Linked DNA regions of Homo sapiens: region 2 is linked to region 1. The links are contacts of gene promoters, found by promoter capture Hi-C in human tissues and cell types (Jung and others, 2019). All regions are on one chromosome and are shown on one strand. Each heading gives the region's core, a stretch centred on a gene start or on the middle of the fragment in contact. The rest is flanking DNA. Distances are from core to core; before and after follow the strand shown.

Region 1 (3,793 bases), core at 350-2,849:
TTAACCTACATATTTATATGGTTTTGCCCACATTGGGATTTATCAGCTTGAAAAATACTCAAGGCTGGACGCAGTGGCTCACGCCTGTAATCCCAGCACTTTGGGGGGCCAAGGCGGGTGGATCACGAGGTCAGGAGTTCAAGACCAGCCTGGCCAATATGGTGAAACCCCATCTCTACTAAAAAATACAAAAATTAGCCGGCCATGGTGGCGCCCGCCTGTGGTCCCAACTACTCAGGCAGGCTGAGGCAGGAGAATCGCTGGAACCCAGGAGGTGGAGGTTGCAGTGAGCCGAGATCGCGCTACTGCACTCCAGCCTGGCCGACAGAGACTCCATCTCAAAAAAAAAAAAAAAAAAAAAAAAAAAGAACAAAAACACTTCAAAATTTGATAGGTGAAAAATATATAACACTGTTTTTAAAGTTGCATTTCTGTTGTTACAAGTGAGAATGAGCATTTTTCCATACCTTCATTGGCTGTTTACTTTTCTTTTTTCTGTAAATTATCTTTTTTCATTTTCTATTGAGTTTTTCATCCTTTTCCAGGTGTTTTGTAAAAGCTCATTGCATAATATGGAAAATAGACTCAAATCAAATCCCAATCCCAATCCAATTATTCATACTAAAAAATACTGCACTCACCAAAAAATTGCTTGTTGTCTTCATAGTATTTGTTTCCATATTTGTCTTCCCCCACTAATGTACCAACCTTCGCATCATTTGTCCTGTGAATACCCAAAAGAAAACAGACATTTTAGAATGATTCTTAGTTCAAAACATAAACGGAAATAAAGTGAGAGTAACAACTTTCAGACACAAGGGCTGCTGCATCAACTAGCAAAATGAAGAAGTGCTGGGGATGGGAAAAGATGAATTGACAACTGATGTGCTCAAATTACACTAAAAATATAAATGTAGTCTCTTCAGATTACAGGACTACTTGTATCTACTATCCCTCAGCCAGGAGGCACTGGAATTAGCAAAACCTTTAGGAAATCAAAAAGCCAAAGTATTTCATCTTCTTACAATGATACGAAGGTCTCCAGGCTCTTTCATTCCACTCTGGGTCTCCATTTAGGTTTCTGCGAAACTATGCTGCTCGTGGGATCAGTGAATGTCAGGAAGAGAAGGGACCATCATTATTACCTTCAACGCCTTACAGACAAGGAACTGTACGGCAGTGCAGGGAAAAAAACTTTACCAGGGTCACTGAGTTAATGTCTTGTAATCCTCATTACTCTCCAGGGCGTGGGAAAAGAGGGGAGCCCAGATGCCCTTGCCTCCGAGTCACAGCTCTGACTCTACAGATAGCTTCGGTCTTGTATCGGGGATATATGGGACAGAGACCAGCCTGGGGGTGGCAAGGCAGAGATTGGGGCGGTTGTCCTTGACAAGAGCTGTGGATTCTCCAAGGTGACCCGAGCCTGGGACCCCTTCCAAGAAATCAGCCAGCGAAAGTCCAGCCCCAGAGGCCAAGAGCATGGCTCTGGCCGCCTACCTGAAAAAAACCCGTAGATAGCCTCGGAGACCGCCGTGGCCGGTGATCTGCTGCAGCCCGCGTTTCAGGACCTGCACTAACTCCATCTTGCCTCGCTGGCCCCGCCTCCCGGGTGCGCCGAGCAAAACCCACCGGATGGAAGCTGCCACTCAGCCGCAGGAAGCCCACGCCCAGAAGGTTCTCACGCGAACGCCAGACGTGGTGGCTCTGCGCGTGCGCAGAGCTAGGTCTTGCCTACGCGGTCATGTTCTGGCTTCCCAAGTAGGCAGAATTGGTTTCCCCTGGAAGCAAAGGTACCTTAAAATTTAGTTTTCAGAGGTTAAATCTAGAAGGCGGGCATATGCTGGAAAGCTCACCTACACGAGGCTTTCTCACACGGGGATTCCCCCTTTGGGAATTTCAGTTTCCTCATCTAAAAATAATTGGCTCTGGTGGGCGCGGTGGCTCACTGTTGTAATCCCAGCACTTTGGGAGGCCGGGTAGGGAGGATCGTTTGAGCCCAGGAGTTCGAGACCAGCCTCGCCAACACAGCGAGAATTCTGTCTCTACAAAAAAAAAAAAAAAATTAAAAATTAGCTGGATGTGGTGGCGCGTGCCCGTAGTCCCAGCTACTCGGTAGGCTGAGGCTTAGATGGGAGCATCGCTTGAGCCTAAAAAATTTCAATATTACTTCATTTGTTAACCACAATTCTTCTACAAAGAGAAACCTCCCTTCAACTATTTGGCTCCTGAGATACAATTAATGTAGGAAAGGCAGTATGGGTGCTTGATTCTCTTACTTTTTTTTTGTTTTTTAATTTTAGAGACAGGCTCTCTGTCACCCAGGCTGAAATACAGTGGTGTGATCATAGCTCACTGCAGCCTCAAACTCCTGTGCTCAAGCAGTCCTCCCATTTAAGTAAGTGCCACCACCCCTGGCTAATTTTTTTTTTTTTAGAGATGGGCATCTTGTTATGTTGCCCAGGTTGGTTTTGAACTCTGGCCTCAAGTGATCCTCCTGCCTCAGCCTCTCAAAATGCTGGGATTACAGGTGTAAGCCACCACACCCAGCCGATTCTTTCCCTTATGTGTGTTTTCAAAATAACAATTTAGTTCCCTAGCTTTTTTTTTTTTTTTTTGGTAGTGGTGGTTAAAAACACAAAATATAAAATTTACCATTTTAACCATTTTTAAGTGTACAGTAGTGTTAACCACATGCACATTGTTGCGCAACAGATCTCTAGAACTTATTCTTCTTGCAAAACAGAAACTTTATATCCATGGAACAACTTTTTCCTCTTTCTCCATCCCCTGCCAACCACCATTCTACTTCTGTTTCTAAGAGTTTAACTACTTTAGATACTTCATATAAGTAGAATCATGAGGTGTTTGTCTTTTAGGACCTGGCTTATTTCACTTAGCATGATATCCACAAGGCTCATCCATAGTGTAGTATATGACAGGATTTTCTTCTTTTTATAAATGTTGAATAATATTCCACTGTATGTATATGCCACCCAGTTACCTGTCCATAAACATTTCTGCTGATTCCGCCTCTTGGCTATTGTGAATAATGCTGCAGTGAACACGGGTGTGCAGATATCTCTAAGATCCTGTTTTCAGTTCTTTTGGATATATACCCAGAAGTGGATTGCTAGATCATATGGAAATTTTATTTTTTATTTTTATAGGAATCCCCATACTGTTTTCCATGGCAGCATCACCATTTTACATTACTAACAACAATGCACAAAGGTTCCAATTTCTCCACCTCCTCACCAACACTACATATTTTCTGTGTTTGTTTGTATGTTTGTTTGTTTGTTCTGAGACGGAGTCTAACTCTGTTGCCCAGGCTGGCGTGCAGCGGTGCGATCTCGGCTCACTGCAACCTCCCCTTCCCAAGTTCAAGCGATTCTCCTGCCTCAGCTTCCCGAGTAGCTGGGATTACAGGCGCCCACCACCACCCCCGGCTAATTTTTGTATTTTTAGTAGAGACGAGGTTTCACCATGTTGGCCAAGCTGGTCTTGAACTCCTGACCTCAGGTGATCCACCCGCCTTGGCCTCCCAAAGTGCTGGGATTACAGGCGTGAACCACCACGCCCAACCTGTGTTCATTTGTTTTTTACAGTGGGCATCCTAATGGATGATGAGGTGATACCTCATTGTGGTTTTGATTTGCATTTACCTGATTACTGATGTTAACCATGTTTTCATATGCTTGTTGGCCATTTGTATATCTTCTTTGGAGAAATGTTTATTCAAGTCCTTTGCCCATTTTTGAATCGGGTTTTTTGTTGTTGTTGTTGAGTTGTA
Region 2 (3,906 bases), core at 1,288-3,787, 750 kb before region 1:
TATTAAGTAGCTTATAACATTTAAAAATTAGTGATTCACATTTGGAAACGTCTCTTGAAAATGTGAAAGATTTGGATCATTGGATCCCAAATTTCCATAGCATCAGTTTATTAGAGCTGAGTAGCAGCTACGCCCTAGAGAGAGGGAATGTGCTCCCTAGGTTTTGACCACAGTCGCCACCACTCCATATTGTCTCCACCTAGGCCATTTAACTCATCTATGTACCTGATATCTGTAGCCATTTCGTTTGTGACTCTGGTTCTGAGCTGCTTGTCATTTGAAGTCTATTTTCTCTCATCCTTCTTTGAAAAAGGAACTCTTATCCACCAACAAATAGCACTTTGGCTGGGCCCGGTGGCTCATGCCTGTAATCCCAGCACTTTGGGAGGCTGAGGCGGGTGGATCACGAGGTCAGCAGATCGAGACCATCCTGACCAACATGGTGAAACCCTGTCTCTACTAAAAATACAAAAATTAGCTGAGTGTGGTGGCACGTGCCTGTAATCCCAGCTACTCAGGAGGCTGAGGCAGGAAAATCATTTGAACCCGGGAGCTGGAGGTTGCAGTGAGCCGAGATCGTGCCACTGCACTCCCGCCTGGCCACAGAACAAGACTCCGTCTCAGAAAAAAAAAAAAAAAAAAAAAAAAAAAGCACTTTGTATTTCCTGATTTAACATAGGTATTGACTTTCTGAAATTTGACAGCTAGTACAGGCAGTTGCCAGTGTCTCCTTCTATACACTCATTTATTCACTCATTCATCCCTGCATCTATTTACCTTATGTTCATTGAGCACCTGTTATGTTGCTGATAACTGTGCAAGTCTCTGGAGCTAGAAAAAAATGAGCCTTTGCGTGCATGAGCCAGTGTTGCTCAAACTGAGGCCTGAGGAACAGTGGTCCCAAGTGACTGTCCTGGAAAAAGGGGTTCCATGGTCAAGTAAGTTTGGGAATCACTACATCATACTCCACCCTTTCTTAGACATGCACAATGCATGTTATTAAGACTGTTGACTTTATGAAGTAGTCCAGTGAAGAGCCATATTTGTTTCCTCCAGCATTATTGGTAGCAGAGCCCGTCTATTATGTAATTTCTTTTTTTTTTTTGAGAAAGGGTCTCACTTTTTTGCCCAGGCTGAGTGCAGTGGCACGATCACGGCTCACTGCAGCCTTGACCTCCTGGGCTCAAGTGGTCCTCCCACCTCGGCCTCCCAAGTAGCTGGGACTCCAGGCATGCACCATCGCACCCATCTAATTTTCTATTTTTTTGTAGAGACAGAAAAATATCTTTCTCTGTTGCCCAGGCTGATCTCAAACCCCTAGCCTCAAGGCATGCTCCCACCTCAGCCTCTCAAAGAGCTGGAATTACAGACGTAAGCCCCCGCACCTGGCTGTAATTTCTATAAGGAGGAGAAGCTTCCTAGAATAACAGTGGTTGATTGTTGAATACCTATACTTTTTTAAACAATACATTCTTAATGCTTTTTGTGAGTTACTTCTTATAATCCTCCCAGCATCACAGTGAGATAGGCACTCTTACAGAGAAGGCAGCCAGGCACAGAGATGCTGAGGAACTTAACCCAGGTCACATAGCTAGTAAATGGCAGAGCAAGGACATGAACCCAAGCACCAAACTGGGTTGGTTTATGGCCTCTGCAGCACAGTTAGAAGCAATATGGAGGTATGGGAGTTCCTTGTGGCTCGCTCATCATGTCACCCCATTAGCTCTATGCAGGTTTGGCCCATGTAGCCAACTGTGGATCTGCGGTTCCTTTCTACGTTTGCAGCACAACTTTATTTCTCCAGGGATGCTTACAAACATTCAAAAACAATGGAACAATGCAAGTGGCTGCAGCTGTGGGGAAGAAACTTGGCTTGTTTCATTACGTTTCAGCCAACTGGGATCTTTGGTTACAAGTGAAGGTTATTTGATTTAGCTTTCACTTGTAAAATGAGTAAGGTTTTGGTTTTTTTCTGCTGCATTTTGGCATCTTCCTCTTCAGAGTGACCCCTCACTGGGAAATTTTCTTATAAGATCCAGCTTTTTAATGCTATTTTCTAGTTTCATTCTAGCTCCTGCTCTCTGTCCCTATCTGTTTTGTTTTTGTTTTTGTTTTTAAGAACTGTAAAGATTGCTATTTGTTTTCATTTTTGGTTTTTGAGTTACCATGTCCCTCTGATGCAGCATCTCTGTCTCTTAGCGGCCGTGGGGGTGACCAGGCACAAATCGAAGGAGCTGAGTCGCAAACAGAGTCAACAACTAGAATTGCTGGAAAGCGAGCTCCGGAAAGAGATACGTGACGGTAGGCTCCAAAATTGTGTTTGTAGAAAAACAAGCCTTTTATATTTATACTTTTATTTTTTTACCCTTACATAGAGATGGCCACAGTAATGAGAACTGTTTGTATAATAGAAGGCAACGGAAGGGCAGGGCCTGGGCCTGGCTTTGTGTTTTATTTCAGCTCTTCTCTGCAGCCAACCAAGTCATTATCTATTGTTTCTTCTTTAATGAAAACCAAGGTCATACTCTGTGTTAGACAAAACAGCAGAAGATCCTATCCATTGTTTGTTGAGTTAAAATATTGCTCTTGGGATTCTGTTTTGCAGGCTTTGCTGAGCTGCAGATGGATAAATTGGATGTGGTTGATAGTTTTGGAACTGTTCCCTTCCTTGACTACAAACATTTTGCTCTGAGAACTTTCTTCCCTGAGGTAAAAGAGCATTGATCATATTCCGAAGGTTGAGTCTTGAATAATAATGAAGGTGCTTGTTGCTGTTGTCAAAACGAGTGTTTGCTTCCAAGGCAGCTATAATGTGCTTGGTACAAAAATAATGGCTTAAGTTTGAGCAGAGCAGGGAGGAGGGTAATTATTAATTGCATTGATTAGGGTATAAAACAGTGATGGGTCACTGGTGATTATTCTTTGCCCAGTAACAAAAACCTAGGAGGGACAGAAGCTCAGAGTGATGATTTTTGCTTTCTTTTACTCTCAATGTAGAACTGAATGTGTAGCTGGGAAGTGAGCTAGTTTATTTAAAAATCAATAAATTGTGAGCTAGCCAATTTGTTGTGTTTATCTGCATGACTTACATTGCAGTGACTAGATTATTCACTATTACTTCTCAATTGGAAAGGAAAAATACTACTGGTCAAAAGGGAGGAAAGTAGACATGGATGGAATTGGAGTTGAAAACAGGCATTTTTAGCCATGTAGAGTTCTTATGGTTCTCTTTGGTAGTTTTTCTTTAGCTGGTCAGTTTGTATTGTCCTCATTTAGTAGACGTAGATGCACGAACTGATTAATTCATTTGTTCTAGGGCTCTGAGGAGTCGTCTACTTAACCTTTTGGGTTGCTGGTCTTACCTATGTTCTCACGCCTCCATTTTCTCACCCACTCACTCAGCCTTCTCCATTTACCCTCCCAAGTCTTTGGCGAGGTACACTCATCCTGCGTATCATCACTGCCATGTCCTGATACCCCAGCTCTGCCATATTGCCCTTCTTTTTTGCGGTATGATGACCACATAGAGGCCCAACCTCTTAAACACATCAATACCAATGATCACATTTCAATCTAGACTTCTAAGCAACGGCTGAAATCTCTCCAGGCCAAAGGAGAGTTTGTATCACCTTACCAGAAGCTTCTCCGGAACAATTGGCCAGAAGCCTAGAGTTCAGAAACCCAGACACATGCAGTAAGCAATTTCCAGTTTCTCTATAATTTAGAAGAGGACACCATGATATGTAATGCGGGGTCTGGAGGTTGGAATGCCTCCATAAAACACCTGCCATATTTTTTGGTCCAAGCCTTAGTGTTATAAATCAAGAAGGCTGTAAATAAGACTTCAGCTTTTTGTGCTGGTGAAGTTTGTTTCCTTTAACTTATCCTCCAAGAGTACCGAGGCAC

What was found. Contacts are between HindIII fragments. The study calls those that stand out against the background at their distance.
Region 2: a contact is called between a fragment that was not itself captured here and the fragment with the promoter of NDUFA12 in region 1, in 1 of the 25 tissues and cell types used here (heart right ventricle).

Annotation. Positions count from the first base shown.
Region 1 is chr12:95,002,098-95,005,890 of GRCh38, forward strand. NDUFA12 (NADH:ubiquinone oxidoreductase subunit A12) reads right to left here and starts at 1,600. Exons shown (of 4, transcript NM_018838.5): 1 at 1,498-1,600; 2 at 642-724. The coding sequence starts at 1,583. RefSeq lists enhancers at 1,231-1,858, 1,323-1,722. The HindIII fragment of the contact is 12,199 bases long and covers 1-3,793 here.
Region 2 is chr12:94,252,588-94,256,493 of GRCh38, forward strand. It overlaps PLXNC1 (plexin C1), which reads left to right. Exons shown (of 31, transcript NM_005761.3): 16 at 2,200-2,301; 17 at 2,606-2,709. Among named protein-coding and RNA genes, the nearest start is that of PLXNC1-AS1, 78 kb to the left of the region's middle. The HindIII fragment of the contact is 5,652 bases long and covers 1-3,906 here.